Regions from separate parts of the Homo sapiens genome. Here regions 1, 2, 3 and 5 are each linked to region 4. The links are contacts of gene promoters, found by promoter capture Hi-C in human tissues and cell types (Jung and others, 2019). All regions are on one chromosome and are shown on one strand. Each heading gives the region's core, a stretch centred on a gene start or on the middle of the fragment in contact. The rest is flanking DNA. Distances are from core to core; before and after follow the strand shown. Region 1 overlaps CDC42BPB (CDC42 binding protein kinase beta). Region 2 overlaps TRAF3 (TNF receptor associated factor 3). Region 3 overlaps TRAF3 (TNF receptor associated factor 3). Region 4 holds the start of AMN (amnion associated transmembrane protein). Region 5 overlaps CDC42BPB (CDC42 binding protein kinase beta).

The links. The method cuts DNA at HindIII sites, captures the fragments that hold promoters and counts their contacts. A contact is called where the count stands out against the background at its distance.
Region 1: a fragment that was not itself captured here is called in contact with the fragment with the promoter of AMN in region 4 in 2 of the 25 tissues and cell types used here (mesendoderm cells and pancreas).
Region 2: a fragment that was not itself captured here is called in contact with the fragment with the promoter of AMN in region 4 in 2 of the 25 tissues and cell types used here (H1 embryonic stem cells and IMR-90 fibroblasts).
Region 3: a contact is called between a fragment that was not itself captured here and the fragment with the promoter of AMN in region 4, in 9 of the 25 tissues and cell types used here (H1 embryonic stem cells, IMR-90 fibroblasts, dorsolateral prefrontal cortex and 6 more).
Region 5: a fragment that was not itself captured here is called in contact with the fragment with the promoter of AMN in region 4 in 2 of the 25 tissues and cell types used here (dorsolateral prefrontal cortex and thymus).

What each region holds. Positions count from the first base shown.
Region 1 is chr14:103,029,367-103,032,909 of GRCh38, reverse strand. The region is part of intron 1 of CDC42BPB (CDC42 binding protein kinase beta); the gene reads left to right. Among named protein-coding and RNA genes, the nearest start is that of CDC42BPB, 26 kb to the left of the region's middle. The HindIII fragment of the contact is 5,944 bases long and covers 1-3,543 here.
Region 2 is chr14:102,836,030-102,839,447 of GRCh38, reverse strand. All of the region lies in intron 2 of TRAF3 (TNF receptor associated factor 3), which reads right to left. Among named protein-coding and RNA genes, the nearest start is that of TRAF3, 60 kb to the right of the region's middle. The HindIII fragment of the contact is 6,332 bases long and covers 1-3,418 here.
Region 3 is chr14:102,808,572-102,812,119 of GRCh38, reverse strand. The region is part of intron 1 of TRAF3 (TNF receptor associated factor 3); the gene reads right to left. Among named protein-coding and RNA genes, the nearest start is that of TRAF3, 33 kb to the right of the region's middle. RefSeq lists silencers at 358-467, 2,277-2,436. The HindIII fragment of the contact is 3,490 bases long and covers 1-3,449 here.
Region 4 is chr14:102,920,672-102,924,328 of GRCh38, reverse strand. It overlaps AMN (amnion associated transmembrane protein), which reads right to left and starts at 1,666. Exons shown (of 12, transcript NM_030943.4): 1 at 1,598-1,666; 2 at 500-618; 3 at 350-394. The coding sequence starts at 1,640. RefSeq lists silencers at 1-79, 1,243-1,442. The HindIII fragment of the contact is 38,072 bases long and covers 1-3,657 here.
Region 5 is chr14:103,002,870-103,006,176 of GRCh38, reverse strand. CDC42BPB (CDC42 binding protein kinase beta) reads left to right here. Exons shown (of 37, transcript NM_006035.4): 4 at 2,154-2,249. Among named protein-coding and RNA genes, the nearest start is that of CDC42BPB, 53 kb to the left of the region's middle. The HindIII fragment of the contact is 7,582 bases long and covers 1-3,307 here.

The DNA.
Region 1 (3,543 bases), core at 448-2,947, 110 kb before region 4:
CACGGTGGATTATGCCTGTAATCCTAGCACTTTGGGAGGCTGAGGCAGGTGGATCATCAGGAGTTCGAGACCAGCCTGGGTAACATGATGAAACTACTAAAATATAAAAATTAGCCAGGCGTGGTGCTGCATGCCTGTAATCCCAGCTACTCAGGAGGCTGGGGCAGGAGAATTGCTTGAACCCGGGAGGCAGAGGTCGCAATGAGCCTAGATCACACCACTGCACTCCAGACTGAGTAACAGAGCGAGACTCCGTCTCAAAAAAAAAAAAAAAAAAAAGTGGATTTGTTTTATAGGCATTTGGATTGTACACCTCCTTAATCTCTTTTAATCTGTAAGCTCTTTCTCTCTCCTTTTTTTTTTTTTTTTTTTTTGCAGTTTATTTGTGGAAGAATTGGCATTTGTCCTGTCCTGTTCAAAAGTTTTAACTGGTTTCTAGTGTTTTCCTAGCTGGACAAATTTGGCATTTGACAGATCATTCCTATACTATTGGCCCAGTATATTTTGTGGGAAATAAACTATTTGGGGGTTCAATCGATGTAAAAAAAAATAGGCATTTCTGATTTCATTTCAGATGTTGCAGTGGTAAAGTATATTCCAGTCAGGAGCTGGTGAGGCCTGAGGCCCAAGTGTGCACCCACGCGGGGTTGCAGAGAGGCCGAGAAGTGCGTTATTACCTCCCTTCTCCTTGGTCCTCGTGGGTGGGCATGAGAGGTTGGATCTGTCACTCTGAGACAGCAGAGGGGGACAAGGAGAAGTGAATGAAATACGTGTTGCTTCTCCAGGCCTTCATATCAGAAACACCTGCCGCTGCCCTGAGGCCACAAGGCTGGCCGCCGGCTGGTGCTCTTGGCTCCCTCTGCTGCTTGCTGGGTGAGGATGCCCTGGGCTTGTGGCATTTTTCTTAAAAAAAAAAAAATAATAATAATAATAATAGAAGGCAGGTCTTATAGTAGTTGTTCACTGGAGACACTTTGGAGTTGACAATTAGTGAGGACTCAACTTTTTAAAATGTGATCTTAAGCTTTTTGATTTTTTAATTGAAGTTCAGAAAAATTAGTTGATACTTGTCCACCCATGTGAGTGATGCTGTAGTCTCTGGTACATCAGCTTTTTAGTTGGTTTCCGGAATCCAGCCCTTAGAAGCCAGACGGGTTGGGCATTCTACCTGCACATCAGGCTGCACAGAGGCTGGGCCTTGGTGCTGTTGGGAGCCCCAGGCCCTTCCTGCTGAGAGCACTGGGGAAAGGCCTGCGTGTGGGCGCCTGTAGAGAAATACCAGGCTCATCCCAAATTGGAAATCGCCAGACGTTCTGGAAAAGTACAATTTTCATAATCAAATAAACCCTGGTAGTATAAATCTTGTATTTTTACTGCAGCGTTTGTTTAAGGAGAAGCATTTTTGACAGCTCTTGTAGCTTGTGAAAGGAAATGCAGACTGCACAAAGCTAGATGTCCTTTTGCAAAATGTTAAACATTTGCTGACTTTGCCGTAAAGTTTTATTGATTATTTGGAAAGCTCTTTCATTTGTTGATTTTAGTGTCTCATCTCTAGGCATCTGGTGAAAAGGGTAGTTTTCCTGGCTTACCAATTACTTTCATGAAATCAGAAGAACATTTTCAAGTCTTCTGTGAAAACATCCTTCCTTCCTGTTTATTACTGCGTTTACGTGGGGATGGTGAGCCAAAGATGACGATACAGGAGCACACTGGCCATCTTTCTCTGCTTGGTGTCTGGGTCATGTACTTTTTTTATTTCATTTCCTTCATGCCGGCGTTTTTATAATACTGAAAAATATCAGCATAAAATATTTTTTTTAATTAAAAAAAAAGTAACTCAGAAATGCTTAGGTTCAGTTGGATATGTGACATATTGGAGGTGGGTAGTCTGGCAGCCAATCTGAACACTTTTGTGTGTGTGTAGAGACAGGGTGCCACCGTGTCACCCAGGCTGGAGTGCAATGGCTCAGTCTTGCCTCACTGCAATTCCCACCTCCTGGGCTCAAGCCATCCTCCCGTCTCAGCCTCTCGAGTAGCTGGGACTGTAGGTGCATGCCACCACACTGACCTAATTTTTGTGAATTTTTTTGTAGAGACGGGCTTTCGCCATGTTGCCTAGGCTGGTCTGGAACATCTAGGCGTAAGTGATCTACCTGTCTCAGCTCCCACAGTGCTGGGATTATAGGTGTGAGCCAGCCCTGAACACTTTTTTTTGAGATGGAGCCTCCCTCTGTCACCCAGGCTGGAGTGCAGTGATGGGATCTGGGCTCACTGCAACCTCCACCTCCCAGGTCGAAGTGATCCTCCCGCCTCAGCCGCCCAAGTAGCTGGGACTACAGGCGTGCACCACCACACTCAGCTAATTTTTATATTTTTAGCAGAGATGGGGTTTCACCATGTTGGCCAGGCTGGTCTTGATCTCCTGACCTCGGGTGATCCACACACCTTGGTCTCCCAAAGTGCTGAGATTACAGGCATAAGCCACTGTGCCTGGCCACCTGAACACATTTAATTGTTGAGGCTGAAATAAATAACATTTAAAATGAGTGAAGCCATTGTTATCCAAACTATGCTCCTCAAACTTTCTTTGCCTCTTTTTTAAAAGAACCAGATTCTTCTAAACATTCTTAAATGTTTTAAAAAGAGGTACCATTTCCACCTTCAACCTCATTGGCCATGAGAGGGCTTTGATACCGTGCTGGGCACGCCCCATGGAGATGGGCGACTACTGGTCACTCCTGTCGGGCAAGGTGAGGCCGGGCTGGCCGCTCCACGCTTCTCCTCTGTTCAGGAAGGAAAGTGAGCGCCTCACTCTGAGGGCGGTTTGCTTGGTGGCCCTTCCTCTGGTTCAGGAGCAGCCACCCTGTGAGAGCCAGTTAGGCACTGGGAGGGTTGGAGTTGCTGGCTGGAGAGCCCCTCAGGTGCTGGGAGGGCTGGAGTTGCTGGATGGATTGCTATTGCTGTTTTGAATATTGCTTCCCGCTCACATGCGTGTCTGGCCACTGAGGGCTCCAATCTAGCATTTCTTTTTTTTTTTTTTTTTTTTTTTTTGGAGATGGAGTCTCCCTCTGTCACTAGGCTGGAGTGCAGTGGCGCGATCTCGGCTCACTGCAACCTCCGCCTCCTGGGTTCAAGCAATTCTCCTGCGTCAGCCTCCGAAGTAGCTGGGACTACAGGTGCACACCACCACACACAGCTAATTTTTTTTTGTATTTTTAGTAGAGACGGGGTTTCACCATGTTGGCCAGGATGCTCTCGATCTCTTGACCTCGTGATCCGCCCATGTCAGCCTCCCAAAGTGCTGGGATTACAGGCATGAGCCACCACGCCTGGCCAATCTAGCATTTCTTTTTTTTTTTTTTCCTTTGAGACAGAGTCTTGCTCTGTTGCCCAGGCTGAAGTGCAGTGGCACAATCTCGGCTCACTGCAAGCTCCGTCTCCCAGGTTCATGCCATTCTCCTGCCTCAGCCTCCTCAGTAGCTGGGATTACAGGTGCCTGCCACCACGCCCAGCTAATTTTTTTGTATTTTTTAGTAGAGACAG
Region 2 (3,418 bases), core at 625-3,124, 85 kb after region 4:
AGGAGTTTGAGACCAGTCAGGCCCACAAGGTGAAACCCCGTCTCTACTAAAAATACAAAAAATCAGCCAGAAGTGGTAGCGTGCACCTGTAGTCCCAGCTACTCAGAAGGCTGAGGCAGGAGAATCGCTTGAGCCCAGGAGGCAGAGGTTGCAGTGAGCGAAGATCGCGCCACTGCACTACAGCCTGGGTGACAGAGTGAGACTGTTTCAAAAAAAAAAAAAAAAAAAAAAAAAAAAGGCAAATCAACCAATAAGCATCTCTCTTGGTTTTGCAGGATTAGCATCCGTTCGAAATTAGCCTGCTCATTTTGTAGGCGTTCCGAACTCCCAATCCTACCTCATCAATATGCCAGGAGGGCACTGGGCAAGCAAAAGGACTCATCCATATGACAGGGAAAGCTTCTACCATGAGCCGATTTCCACAGATTCTCTACAGCGTTCATTTCATAGAAGGCACAGGTGCAGGAAAATGTTTTCAAAAGTACCGACAAAAAAGGTGTTTTTTAAATTAAAAATGTTATGGTATTAAATTTAGTGGGGGAATGAAGATTATGAAATTTAAGGGGGTAATTATCATGAAGAAATTGTCTAGAACTCATGGAATTCAATGTAACAATCAGACGTCATCAAATTCACAACATACCCCCTCCAATACACACTTCCCTTTACATCTGCTGCTTCCGAGCCAGCCTCTGGGTGTGAGTAGACCCTGCCCTGCTGGCTCAGCATCCCCTCCCTCACCAGGAGTGGACTTGCAAACTCTGCTCCAGCCGCAACGACTGTCTCCTTCTGTGTTTTTGTTCTTCCACTGCCTGTCAAACACTTCATCTGCAAGACTCCATTCAAGTATCTTGACAACTACTATTTATCACTAGACTCATGGTTTTCCACTAAACTTTAAGCTCCTTTAGAGCAGGGATCATGCTAAATTTATCCTGTAGTCTCAATGCCTAGCAGGACGGCAGGCACACCCAGCAGGTACCACTTGTTTGTTGAATTAAACTGCGAGCATCTTTTCTCTAACTCTCCCTTCCCAGGGAAACTGACCTTACCTCCTGAAATCCTGGTCCTGTAAGGACACCCATCACAACACTTACAAGCCTGTACTTGCCTTGCTTCCTTCTCTCTCTCCCATCTGACTGTGAGCTTTCTGAAGACAGCAATGTGTCTTGTTCAGGTTTGTATCCTCAGCACTTACAATGGTGCTGGCCACACAGTATGCATTTGGTCTTAGTTATTAATTTACTTCTTGTAGTTATTATTTGTCACAATTACAAATTTGCCTGTTATAGAGATGAGGAAACTAGAGTACGAAGATTCAGCAGCTTCACAACACGATACGTTACTAAGCGGCACAGCGGTCTACCTCGAGTCAGTGTTCTTAACTACTATGTCTGTTATCACACCGCGACTACCTCAACAAAGACAGGCTCACTGACTTGTGCCGTAAGAATCAACAGTTATGCTGTTAAATCAGATTTGCCATTTGTACGCTCAAATTATCTTAGAAAGATCATTCAATGCTCCAACTCTGCTGGCCAGGGTCTGGATTGTTGAGGAACTAAAACAATTACATCAAACAACTTGCCCAAAGTCAGAGCTAACAGGACTAAAACCTAGGTCTCAAAGACCCAGCAATTTGACCATAGTATTTTTGCTGACTTTGACAACTGTCAATTCAAACCCTGCACGATTATCTAATTCCTTAGCAAGAGGCAAAATACATATCTCAAAATTTCCAAAATATCAATAAAGCCCAATAGATGCATCCACCCCATTTTAAAACCAAGTATCTTTTTTTTTTTTACTGTTTTGAATTTCAGCACTGACACAGCCAGAGTTTGTTTACTCCCTTAGGACTCATATATGACATTCACAACCTGATGCACCAGGGAGCACCTTTAGCTGAACCAAATAAGGCTAGTGCCTGACTTCAAAATAGATTTTAAGATCTCGGCTAGGCTAAAATAAAATTTATCACATCATTTAAATTATTGTTTGGAGGCCAGGCACGGTGGCTCACACCTGTAATCCCAGCACTTTGACTTTGGAAGGTCAAGGTGGAAGGATCACTTGAGGCCAGGAGTTCAAGACCAGCCTGGGCAACATAGTGAGACCCCATGTCTATAAAAAATGTGAACATTAGCCAGGTGTGGTGGCATGCACCTGTGGTCCCAGCTACTCGGGAGGCTGAGGCGGGAGGATGGCTTAAGTCCAGGAGGTTGAGGCTATAGCGAGCTGTCATTATACCACTGCAGTCCAGCCTGGGCAACAGAGCAAGACCTTCACCCCCCCCCAAAAAAAACACACACACACACACACACACACAAATTACTTGCTTAATTTCTAGCTACTCTAATATGAAAATTGAGTACAATTATTTATCTTACTTTTGAACAGTATCATCCAAATGCATCTGGATGAGGAGGAGGAAAGAGCAAGGGGAGAATGGAAGGACTGTGCTGCGCTACTCTGTCACAGTTACAGCTATTCTTGGGGGAAAGAAGCCATTTTGTAGCAATATACCTCAGTGAGTTTTTTTCATTTTTGCTTATGGAACTGTGATAGGTTTCCCTGACGTCTTACTCACCTGAAATCATGATCAAACATTCATTACCACTGCATACTTACTTCATTCCTAAAACACAAAATGTCAGACATATTTTTATAGCTAGATAAGAGTCATGTTAAAAGTTTAAGATATGTAGTGTAACACTTCTTTGATTGTAATATTCTTCATGCTATATAAACTCTCTAGAATAAATTTACTTCATAATCAAATGTGGCCACCCACCTCACCTTGCTACAACTGCTAGACACACTAGTACAAACTCTCCTAAGTAGCATCCAATGATCACATATACAAAAGTGTAAAACATTTCCAGATCACCCTAGAATTTTCATCTAAGCGGCCTTTCAAATAAACTATATTCTGCAATGTTGGCTTTTACCTAATACACTAATGATTCACTGCAGTTTACACCGTGAATTTAAATAGAGATTTGTTATGCAACATCAAATTTCTTAGTTTCTCCAAAAATTAATCAATATCTTGAACATAAAATATTCTATTCTCAACAATCATTATACAAATAAAATGGCTACATTAATAAAATTTTCTGCCAGAAAATTATGAAAATAAATCTTTAAATGTAGGTTAGAGCAGTGGCAGTGCTGCTAAATGACTTCAGAAAAGACTCAGCGAGTGAGGGGCATCCACAAGCCAGGCACAGAGGAGCAGGTGCACAGGCCCTGGCCAGCCCCAGCCTCCTGTGCTGTGTGCAGGCAGTACACCTTGCACACGGCACTGGCTCTGCCCCAGATGGTCACAGACAGTTGGGACCAAAGCACCCACCAAATGTATATATCATGTAGATAAATATTTTAGAGACAGGGTCTTGTTCTGTCACCCACGATG
Region 3 (3,548 bases), core at 455-2,954, 110 kb after region 4:
GTCTAGTGTTCTATAGCACTGTCGGATGACTGCAGTTAACAATAATATATAGCTTCAGGCCAGGTGCTCTGGCTCACTCCTGTAATACCAGTGTTTTGGGAGGCTGAAGCAGGAAGACCACTTGAGGCCAGGAGTTTGAGACCAGCCTTAGCAACACAGCAAGACCCTGTCTGTACAAAAAAAAAAAAAAAAAAAAAAAAAAAAAAGGGCCAGGCATGGTGGCACAAGCCTACAGTCCTAGCTACTCGGGAGGCTGAGGCAGGAGGATCACTTGAGCCCACGAGTTCAAGGTTACAGTAAGTTATGACTGCACCACTGCACTCCAGCCTGGGTGGCAGAGTGAGACAGTCTGTACAAACACACACACACACACACACACACACACACACACTACTGCTGTAGCAGTATCCTCCTCACAATGTCAGCCCATCTTAGCAACTTCCGATCAAACTGAGAGTCAAATTGAGAGACTGTAATGAAGGCCTTCATCGCCTTTGCACTATGAGACAAGAGATCTGACCTCTGCACAAAAACAAACAAAAACCAAAAAAAAAAAAAAAAAAAAAAAACCGCCTACAGCGCAAACAGCTCCTTGAGCTCCTTGTAGGTGTGGCTTGTGGGAATGGTCAAGAGCCAGGCATGGCGGCACGGGCCTAATGTCCCAGCTACTCAGGAGGCTGAGGCGAAAACTGCTTAAGCCCAGGACTTCATGGCTGCAGTGTACTATCATCCAGGGCAGTACGACAGCACCTGTGAATAGCCACTGCACTCCCGCCTGAGGCAACATAGCAAGACTCTCTCTTAAGAAAAAAAAAAAAAAAGGTACCCATTGTTTGCTCAGAAGGACGCTAATACAGACAGCAGCAACGGGGCTCATGAGAAGAATCAAAGCAGCAAAAATCATGGGGATGCAGCAATTCGGCATCCCCTTAAGGATCAGGCTGTCCTCCACTCCACTGTGAGATACAAAGTGTATAATGCATGGGACTGGCGTCCTACAAGATGATCTAAGTGCATACATACTGAAAAAAGATGCAAAGACTATACACCAAGATGCTAATGGTGTGGGGATAATGAGGAAAATTATTTTATTTTTATCTTTATGTGTTTTCTCTGGGTATACATACAAAGTTAAGATACCTTTACCGAGCTTTCTCCTGAAGAATTCCTTCTTGATGTAAGTGACTGTAAAGGTTCTGCCCTCAGAGATGTCTTATTTCTGGGAATCCAGAATGTGTAATGGACTCGGGGTACCTTTTCTACGTTTCATCTCCCAAAGAATACGTCCACACCCAGGTAGGCTGATGCTGACACAGCAGACAACACTGACCTCCTCCATGCAGAAGTTTAACAGGTGAAATACAGTTACTGACATCAGCAAGAATTGTTGTCTTTCTCTTGATTCTCTCAGGTTCCTCAATTTATAGGATCACTGAGGCTTCACAGATGTCAGCTGCTGATCAAAACAATCATAAGCCCACATCATGATAAGCTCAAGATAAATCTTTAGCCTTAAGTCAGGAATTCTGGGCCCATCTGCATGTCAAATACCACAGAGCCAGTGTCTTGTGAACACTGCAAACACTTCTGAAGAACTACTTTATAAGTTCAGGAGAGCACATCTCAGAAAAAAATGGAATACTTATTTCAATTTCTCACAATTAACTCTAATTTATGACATTGACATTCTCCTACTTAAAAGCTTCTGATGGTCCACCACTCCAGAACTAAGCTTCAACTTGTAAAAGGGGCCATGATCACTGTCCTCACCACACACTGAGGTCACCCTATGTTCCCACCAGAGCCGACTGCACTGGGTGTGATGAACAGTATCTATACTCTCTCTCCCACTGCACCGCCCCATCCTCACCCAAATCCCCTCAAGATCAAAATTCTTTATCTTGTAAAACTCCTGCTCAAACATTACAGTTGTAGGGGGGAGGGGGTTGTTTGTTTTTTGGTAAAGCATTCTTGACCCTTTAAGCCAAGAGTTGGCAAACTTTTTTCCCATAAAGAGCCAGACAGTAACTATTTTATGTTTCATGGGTCACATATTCTTCTTTGCTTATTTTTACAATCCTTTAAACACATAAAAACTATTCTTAGACCCATAGTTTGCCAATCTGTTTTAGATACTACTGCCATGCCGTGCTCCAACGTTTTTGGTAATGCATGGATGGAGTATGTTTCATCAGTTTAACTTCAATCAGATGAACTTTCAAAAGCCAAACTGAGGTTTCCCTTTAAAGATCTGTTCTTGCCTACATGGTCTTTAAAAGTCTATGCTGTGGGCCAAGCGCGGTGGCTCATGCCTGTAATCCCAGCACTTTAGGAGGCCGAGGCGGGCAGATCACGAGGTCAGGAGATTGAGACCATCCTGGCTAACATGGTGAAACCCCATCTCTACTAAAAATACAAAAAATTAGCCGGGTGTGGTGGCGAGCGCCTGTGGTCCCAGCTACTCAGGAGACAGACAGGAGAATAGCATGAACCTGGGAGGCGGCGCTTGCAGTGAGCCGAGATTGCGCCCCTGAACTCCAGCCTGGGCAACAGAGCAAGACTCCGTCTCAAAAAAAAAAAAAAAAAAAAAGTCTATGCTGTGAAAGATTTTATTATAAAGCTTAAAAATAATCCTCATTTGGGATACATTCCATTTCCAGGAGACACAGAGCTTTAAGAAAGTCACTCTAGGCCAGGCGCGGTGGCTCACGCCTGTAATCTCAGCACTTTGGGAGGCTGAAGCAGGCAGATCACCTGAGGTGAGGAGTTTCAGACCAGCCTGGCCAACTGGTGAAACCCCGTCTCTACTAAAAATACAAAAATTAGCCGGGTGCGGCCAGGCACAGTGGCTCATGCCTGTAATCCCAGCACTTTGAGAGGCCAAGGCAGGCAGATCACGAGGTCAGGAGATTAAGACCATCCTGGCTAACACAGTGAAACCCAGTCTTTACTAAAAATACAAAAAATTAGCCGCGTGTAGTGGCACGCACCTGTAGTCCCAGCTACTTGGGAGGCTGAGGCAGGAGAATCTCTCGAACCTGGGAGGCAGAAGCTGCAGTAAGCAGGGATCGCGCCACTGCACTCCAGCCTGGGTGACAGAGCGAGACGCCATCTCAAAATAAATAAATAAATAAATATTAGCTGGGTGTGATGGCGCGCACCTGTAATCCCAGCTGCTCGGGAGGCTGAGGCAGGAGAATCACTTGAACCCAAGAGGTGGAGGCTGCAGTGAGCTGAGATCGTGCCACTGCACTGCAGCCTGGGCAACAGCGTAAGACTGTCTTAAAAAAAAAAAAAGTCAATCTATCACCATGCTCAAGACAATCAAATTAAAACTACAACTAAAATTTTTCTAGAAACAGCCATTGGTCATTCGACTCAGAGGACATATTTTCCCCAAATACTGAAAATGTGCCTTTAATATTTACATTATGTCCTGTAAAATGCGTCTATAGCTAGGGTCCACCTTCTAGACCAATTTGGAAGTTTTTCTGTTCCAACAAATCCTCTTAAATAACTTCTCAGACATTTCCTTCCCTTGGAGGCTG
Region 4 (3,657 bases), core at 417-2,916:
AGTGTTCTAAAGATGGAGCTTTAGGCACCAGGACAAGGCAAGGCTTTGGGGGAAGGGCATGGAGCAGGCGCTTCCTGGGAAGACCACCCACTGCTGGGCATCACAAGGGCTGTGGGGACAGGGGTGCCTCCCATCCCTCCCAGGACACAGCCTGGCTGGGACCATGGGACCAAGCTCCCCTAGGTTCCCCCCCACTCCCTGCCTCCTAGAATATTCTCCAGAGGCCAAAGTCCCAGTCCTGCAGTGCCTCCATGCCGGTGGGGTCCGCCCTCAAGGCACAGCAGTCCCTGAAGGCGCTTCAGAGACTCTGTGAACCCCCAGCCCAGTGGCAGTAGCAGCCCGGCCTTACCATGTCTGAGACGGCGTGACCTTCTTGCACCAGGACTGACACCATCTGCAGGAAGAAGCTGCCTCAGCCGAGCCGGGAGCAACCCCCACCGGGGCCACACGGTCTCAGGGGTCCAGGCCCATCACCGACCCCGCCGGCGCTCCCAGGCACCTTGTCCGCCGGGAACTCAACGGCGCCGCCGGCGCACGGGGTCCGGTTCTGGCTCCAGTTGGCTGCGACGTCGAAGTCCGTGTTGGGGACCCAGAGTTTGGAGACCGCCTGGGTCAGTGCTGGGGAGGAGGCGACTGAGTGCCCGGGATGCTCTCCGGGATGCTCCCTTCTCAGGGAAGGCCACCCACCCAGAGAAGTGCGGAAGGTCCGCGCGGATCACCCGGGACGCATAGGAACCCCATCCCCGGGGGCCCGGACCCAGACCCTGGTCCCTCCCGGCCAGACTGTGGGCGCCCTGCCCGGGCGCTCTCCAACGGACTTCTACTGATACCTGCAGAGCCCGCTCAAACGCGCCCTGCAGGACGCCTGCCTAGATAGCCTCCCGGCACTGCCCCCAGTTTGCCTGGCGCTGGAGCAGAGGACAGCGTTGTTAAGGACAGTGACAACTGGGGCATGGAGGAGGATGGGGCAGCACAGACCTCTTCTCGGCCTTGGAATCAGGAAGGCTTCCCGGAGGAGTCCTACCTGGGCCGGGAAGAGCTGCGACAGAGCGCAACCCGGTATGAGAAGTAAGAAGGGGCTGGGGGCGGCAGGACCAGGTCAGGCCGGCCCTGAATGTGGTGGGTGGGGTTGTCCTGAGGGAGCCGCGAGGGGTTTAGGGAAGGGGGCGCCAGGGACACGCGCCGGCCTGGTGTGAAGGCGGAGGAGGGCTCAGTGCTCCCTTGGGGACCGGGAAGCTGAGGCGGTCTGCCGAGCCCCGCAGGCGCACACTCGCTGCTCTCGGCAGGTTCTGGGGACCGCGCCCATTTCGCAGACGGAAAAACCGCGAGGGCAGGAGCCGCCGGAGGCCGGGGCTGGCCGAGGTTCCCGGAGCCCCTCCTCTCCTCTCCCGCACCGCCCGATGCACTGGCCGCGCACTTCCGGGCTGCGCACTCGCCAGACGAGGGAGGCAGGGCCGAGTTTCACGCCCCCAACCCTCCAAAGCCCTCCCTGCCCACTCCTCGGAAGATCTTCACCCTCCAGGCCTAGAGCGACCTCGGCCCTGGGTCCTGACAGACCGCTACCGTCCGGGCCCGCACCGGTGTGGTCCCGGCTCACCGCAGAGCTGCAGCCACAGCAGGACCCGGCCCAGGACGCCCATCTCGCCTCGGCTCCTTGCACCCCACCAGGAGACTTTGCCCCACTGGACCCACGTGACCAGGCAGGTCGGGTGGGGGCACCAGGGTCGGTTACACATTTACCTCCAGACCCGCCCAGGGCCGACTCTTCAGGCCCCTGGGAGGCACCTTCTCAGCCTCCCCTTACCCGCCCCTGCAGGGCCTGAACACCTTAGGTTCTCAGGAAGAAGGGCAAAGAAGAAGGGCTTGGCGAGACTGACCTACCCTGTAAAATGGGTGTCTTGCCGGGAGGGGGAATAAACGACCTTTGAATTCACCCCTTTCTCTGTCCTGTGTGCTGCTAGGGCTGAGCTAGTCTGCTCACCATTGGAACTGGGTGTCCACTTCTCCACGCAGTGCCCCTGTCCCATGGGCTGTGGGTGGTGGTTGGATGATAGAAGGAAGATCCTGGATGGAACATGGTATGTGGATGGTATAGGAGGGTGGATTGTGGATGATGGTGGAGAGTAGTGGATGGTGAGTAGGGGACAGCTGATGGACAGCAACATTGATGGTGCATGGTGTACGGCATATGGACGCATGGCAGATGAATGGTAAATGGTTGACGGGGTGGATGGTGAGTGATAGAGGGTGGATGGGTGATGAATGGATGGATGAGGATGGTGAGTGAAAAATGAATGAATGGCCGGGCGTGGTGGCTCATGCCTGTAATCCCAGCACTTTGGGAGGGTGAGGCAGGCGGATCGCGAGGTCAGGAGATCAAGACCATCCTGGCTAACGCGGTGAAACCCCGTCTATACTAAAAATATACAAAAAAATTAACCGGGCATGGTAGAAGGCGCCTGTAGTCCCAGCTACTTGGGGGGCTGAGGCAGAACGGCGTGAACCCAGGAGGTGGAGCTTGCAGTGAGCCACGATCGTGCGCTGCACTCCAGCCTGAGCGACAGAGCGAGACTCCGTCTCAAAAAAAAAAAAAAAAAAAGGAAAAGGAATGGATGGTAATCAGGGAGTGGTGGATGGATAATGGCATAAATGGATACATGGCCGACAGGTAGATCATAAAGAGTGGGTGTTGGCGGGGCACGGTGGCTCACGCCTGTAACCGCAGCACTTTGGGAGGCCAAGGCGGGCAGATCACCTGAGGTCGGGAGTTCGAGACCAGCCTGACCAACATGGAGAAACCCCATCTCTACTAAAAATACAAAATTAGATAGGCATGGTGGCACATGCCTGTAATCCCAGCTACTTGGGAGGCTAAGGCAGGAGAATCGTTTGAACCTGGAAGGCGGAGGTTGTGGTGATCGGAGATCACGCCACTGTGCTCCAGCCTGGGCAACAAGAGTGAAACCCCATCTCAAAAAAAAAAAAGTGGGTGTTAAATGGTGGATGTTTGGTGAGTGATGAATGCTGAATGGATGGATGGTGGATGGTGAATAGATAGATGGTAAATGGATAGATGGTGGATGATGGTTGCATAAATGGTGAATTGTGGATGGAGATGGACGGTGGATAGTGAATAGATGGTGGATAGTGAATAGACAGTGGATAGTGGATAATGGGTGGATAGTAGATGGTGGATAGGATGATAAATGGATGGGTAATGGATGGTAGATAAGTAGATAATGGATAAATGGTGGATGATGGATGGTAGGTGGATGATGGTTGGTGGGTGGTGGATAATGGACAAGTGAATGGTGATGAGTAGATGGTGAATATTAAGTGGATGGATGGGCGGCAGATGGTAGATAGTGGATGATAGATGGTGGATGGTGGATGGTAAGATGAATAGTGGTTGGTGGATGGTGGGTGGTGGATGGTGGGTGGATGGAAGGATGGGTGGTGAATGAGTGAATGGTGGATGGTGAATAGGTGGATGGTGGATGGTGGATGGTGAATGGCCGATGGTGGATGTGAATGGTGATGGGTGGTGGATGAATGGATGGATGAATGGCGAATGGTGGATGGCAGATTGTGGATAAGTGGATGGTGGATGGATGGATGGTGGATGGGTGAATGGGTGGATGGATGAATGGTGGATGG
Region 5 (3,307 bases), core at 173-2,672, 82 kb before region 4:
GTGGCTGAGGTGGCTGTTGGCAGAGGGGTTGTGATGATTCCAGAATTGCTGGTCTCTGCATGTCTGGACATTAGCAAGCTGAATGTTGACCGCTTGTCATGTTGTCATTAGTAGAACTGGGACACAGCTGCAACAGCCATCTTTTTTTTTTTTTTTTTTTTGAGACGTCTCTCCCTGTCGCCCAGGCTGGAGTGCAATGGCACGATCTTGGCTCACTGCGACCTCGGTCTCCTGCGTTCAAACGATTCTCTGCCTCAGCCTCCCGAGTAGCTGGGATTACAGGCACCCGCCACCACGCCTAGCTAATTTTTGTACTTTTAGTAGAGACGGGGTTTCACCATGTTGGCCAAGCTGGTCTTGAACTCCTGACCTCGCGATCCGTCTGCCTCAGCCTCCCAAAGTGCTGGGATTACACGCGTGAGCCACCGTGTGCAGCCAACCATTTCATTTTGAAAGAAAAACTTTTTTTTTCTTGTTTTAGAGACAGGGTCTCACTCTGTTACTCTGTTGTACAGGCTGGAGTACAGTGGCATGATCTCAGCTGGGCTCATCGATCCTCCCACCTCAGCCTCTTGAGTAGCTGGGACTGCAGACGGGTGACACCACACCCGGCTAATTTTTAAGATTCTTTTGTAGAGACGGAGTCTCACTATGTTGCCCAGGCTGGTCTCAAACTCCTAGGCTCAAGTGATCCTCCCGCCTTGGCCTCCCAAGGTGCTGGGATTACAGCGTGAGCCACCATGGCCAGCCTGAAAGGAAAACTTTTTAAAGTTTAGAAAAGAAAACCTTGTAGAAGAAATAAGTTTCAGAGGTCACTGTGAGACTCAGCTGAGAGCCGGTCAGAACTGTGCCCTCGTGCCTCACATAGCAAGCTCTCCGTAATGTACTTATATTTTTGTTAAGCTTGACAAGTTCAAATGTAAGACAGTTTGAATCTTGTTCTGTGCTCAATAAAGAGGAAATCATGTTAAAATTATGCCAAAGGCCTGTTGACTTTTTTTTTTTTTTTGAGACAGAGTCTCGCTTTGTCGCCCAGGCTGGAGTGCAGTGGCATGATCTCGGCTCACTGCAAGCTCCGCCTCCTGGGTTCATGCCATTCTCCTGCCTCAGCCTCCCGAGTAGCTGGGACTACAGGCGCCCACCACCACACCCAGCTAATTTTTTTGTATTTTTAATAGAGACGGGGTTTCACGGTGTTAGCCAGGATGGTCTTGATCTCCTGACCTCGTGATCCACCCACCTCGGCCTCCCAAACTGCTGGGACCACAGGTGTGGGCCACCGTGACCAGCCATTTTTTTTTTCTTTTTGAGATGGAGTCTGGCTCTGTCGTCCAGGCTGGAGTACGGTGATGCAATTTTGGCTCACCGCAACCTCCGCTTCCTGGGCTCAAGCAGTTCTCCCCCCTCAGCCTCCCATGTAGCTGGGATTACAGGCACCTGCCACCACACCTGGCTAGTTTTTCTAGTTTTTAGTAGAGACAGGGTTTCATCATGTTGGCCAGGCTGGTCTTGAACTCCTGACCTCAGGTGTGAGCCACCGTGCTCGGCCAGGCCTGGTGACTTTTAAACGGAGATGCCACCTGGGCATTAAAACTCTTTTGGAAGACGTAGCAGGGTAGAGGGCAGCCTCTTGCCCTGTGCTGCTGGCTGTAGGCCTCCCTAGTGGAATCTGTGACAATTGTGTCATCACTATACTGTGATTTCAGCAAACGTGTGCGCCTTCTGCCAGCTGCACAGCAGCTCAGTAGTGGGTATAGGACGGAGAGGGCAGACACGTGGGGCTGCCCATGCCATCGATACTTGGCAGAGGTTGATCTGGTAGAGGAGTCAGGAGGTGCCAGGTGGGAGGAGCCCAGTCAGGAATCCACATAAGGGTGGGGTGAATCTAAGTGTCAGCCACAGAAATGGTGCCCGTGGGACAGCAGGGTGCAAGTGCCTCCTCAGCAGCCCTTGGCACTTGCACGGGGCTTGGGAGAGGAAGGGATGAGGGATGGCTCAGCCTCAGCAGCCTCGGGGTGGTGCACGAGGAGGAGCCCGGAAGGCAGGGACACCGTGGCTGGAGCCACTGTCCCAGGAGGGACCCCGAGACCGGCAGTACGCTCTCTGGCCTGCTTCCCAGTGAACACAGACTGACACCCCTCGTTGCTTTGCAGACCGCGTGCTTCCGAGAGGAGCGCGATGTGCTGGTGAACGGCGACTGCCAGTGGATCACCGCGCTGCACTACGCCTTTCAGGACGAGAACCACCTGGTAGGTCGCACAGCCAGAGACTCGGTCAGGGCATTCGCTCCGGCTTTATTCCTTTATGCTGTCACTAAAAATTCAGTCAGACAATGTGGAACTGACATTTAAAAAATGTGTATTGGACTCGATAAAACGGCGGGGCTTGTTTTCATGCAGTAATTGTCAGGTAGAACTTCTTTAAAATACACATGTGGAAGTAAGGACTTTGTTTTTTTCTAATCACTAGAGAAGCTGATTCGTTTGTTTGCTGGGTTTATTACATTTAAATCAGCTGGGAGTTTGAAACACTTTCAATCTTGGATTATTGAGAATAAGGAACCGCAGTGGGGATTAAGCCACGTGGATGTTTTTGCCTCCATCTCAGCTAGGGCTGAGTCCGGGAGTGCCTCTCGTGGGCCTGCAGTCCTCCTGTCTTCCCGCGGTGGGGGGGGTGCCCCAGGCCCTTTCGACAGGTTTTAGGTGACTCTTAGTCTCCACGCTGCCTGTGTATTTTTCCGATTTAAACAGGGCTTGCTTTCAGGACAGATGGACCAGCCTCGTGACGCACATGCATGTGCATTGTCAAGCGTGTTCGCCTCCACGGCACTCTAAGGCAGCTGACTTGGCGGTGAAGGGGAAACCAGCCCTTGGTCTTGGCCGCTGAGTGACCCGCAGACCGCCTTGTTCAGGACTTTTTATTCCTAGAGTGACTCTAGGTTTGCCTGAACCTGAAAGTGTCCACTGCTGGAGCTCTGGGTGGACGTGACGCGGGCAGACCTCAGAGAAGGAGGTCTCAGCCCAACTCATTCCCAATGGCACTGTTTCTGCAGTGGTGGCGAGAGGGGCGTGGTCGCTGTGGTCACCAAGCCTCAGAGCAGGGACCCGAGGCTTCCTTTTCCTTGGCAGCCAACGTGCGTGTCCACCTGAAGCTCCTGGGTTGTGCGCTCCATTGGTTCACAGCAGATGGAGTAGTGTGGGATCCTTCCATTCACCCTAAAGGAGCCCTTGAAGCATCAGAGAAAGCCCTGAGATTTGAACACCCAGGATTAGGGAAAAATGTGTACTTATGTAGACTTTATATATAT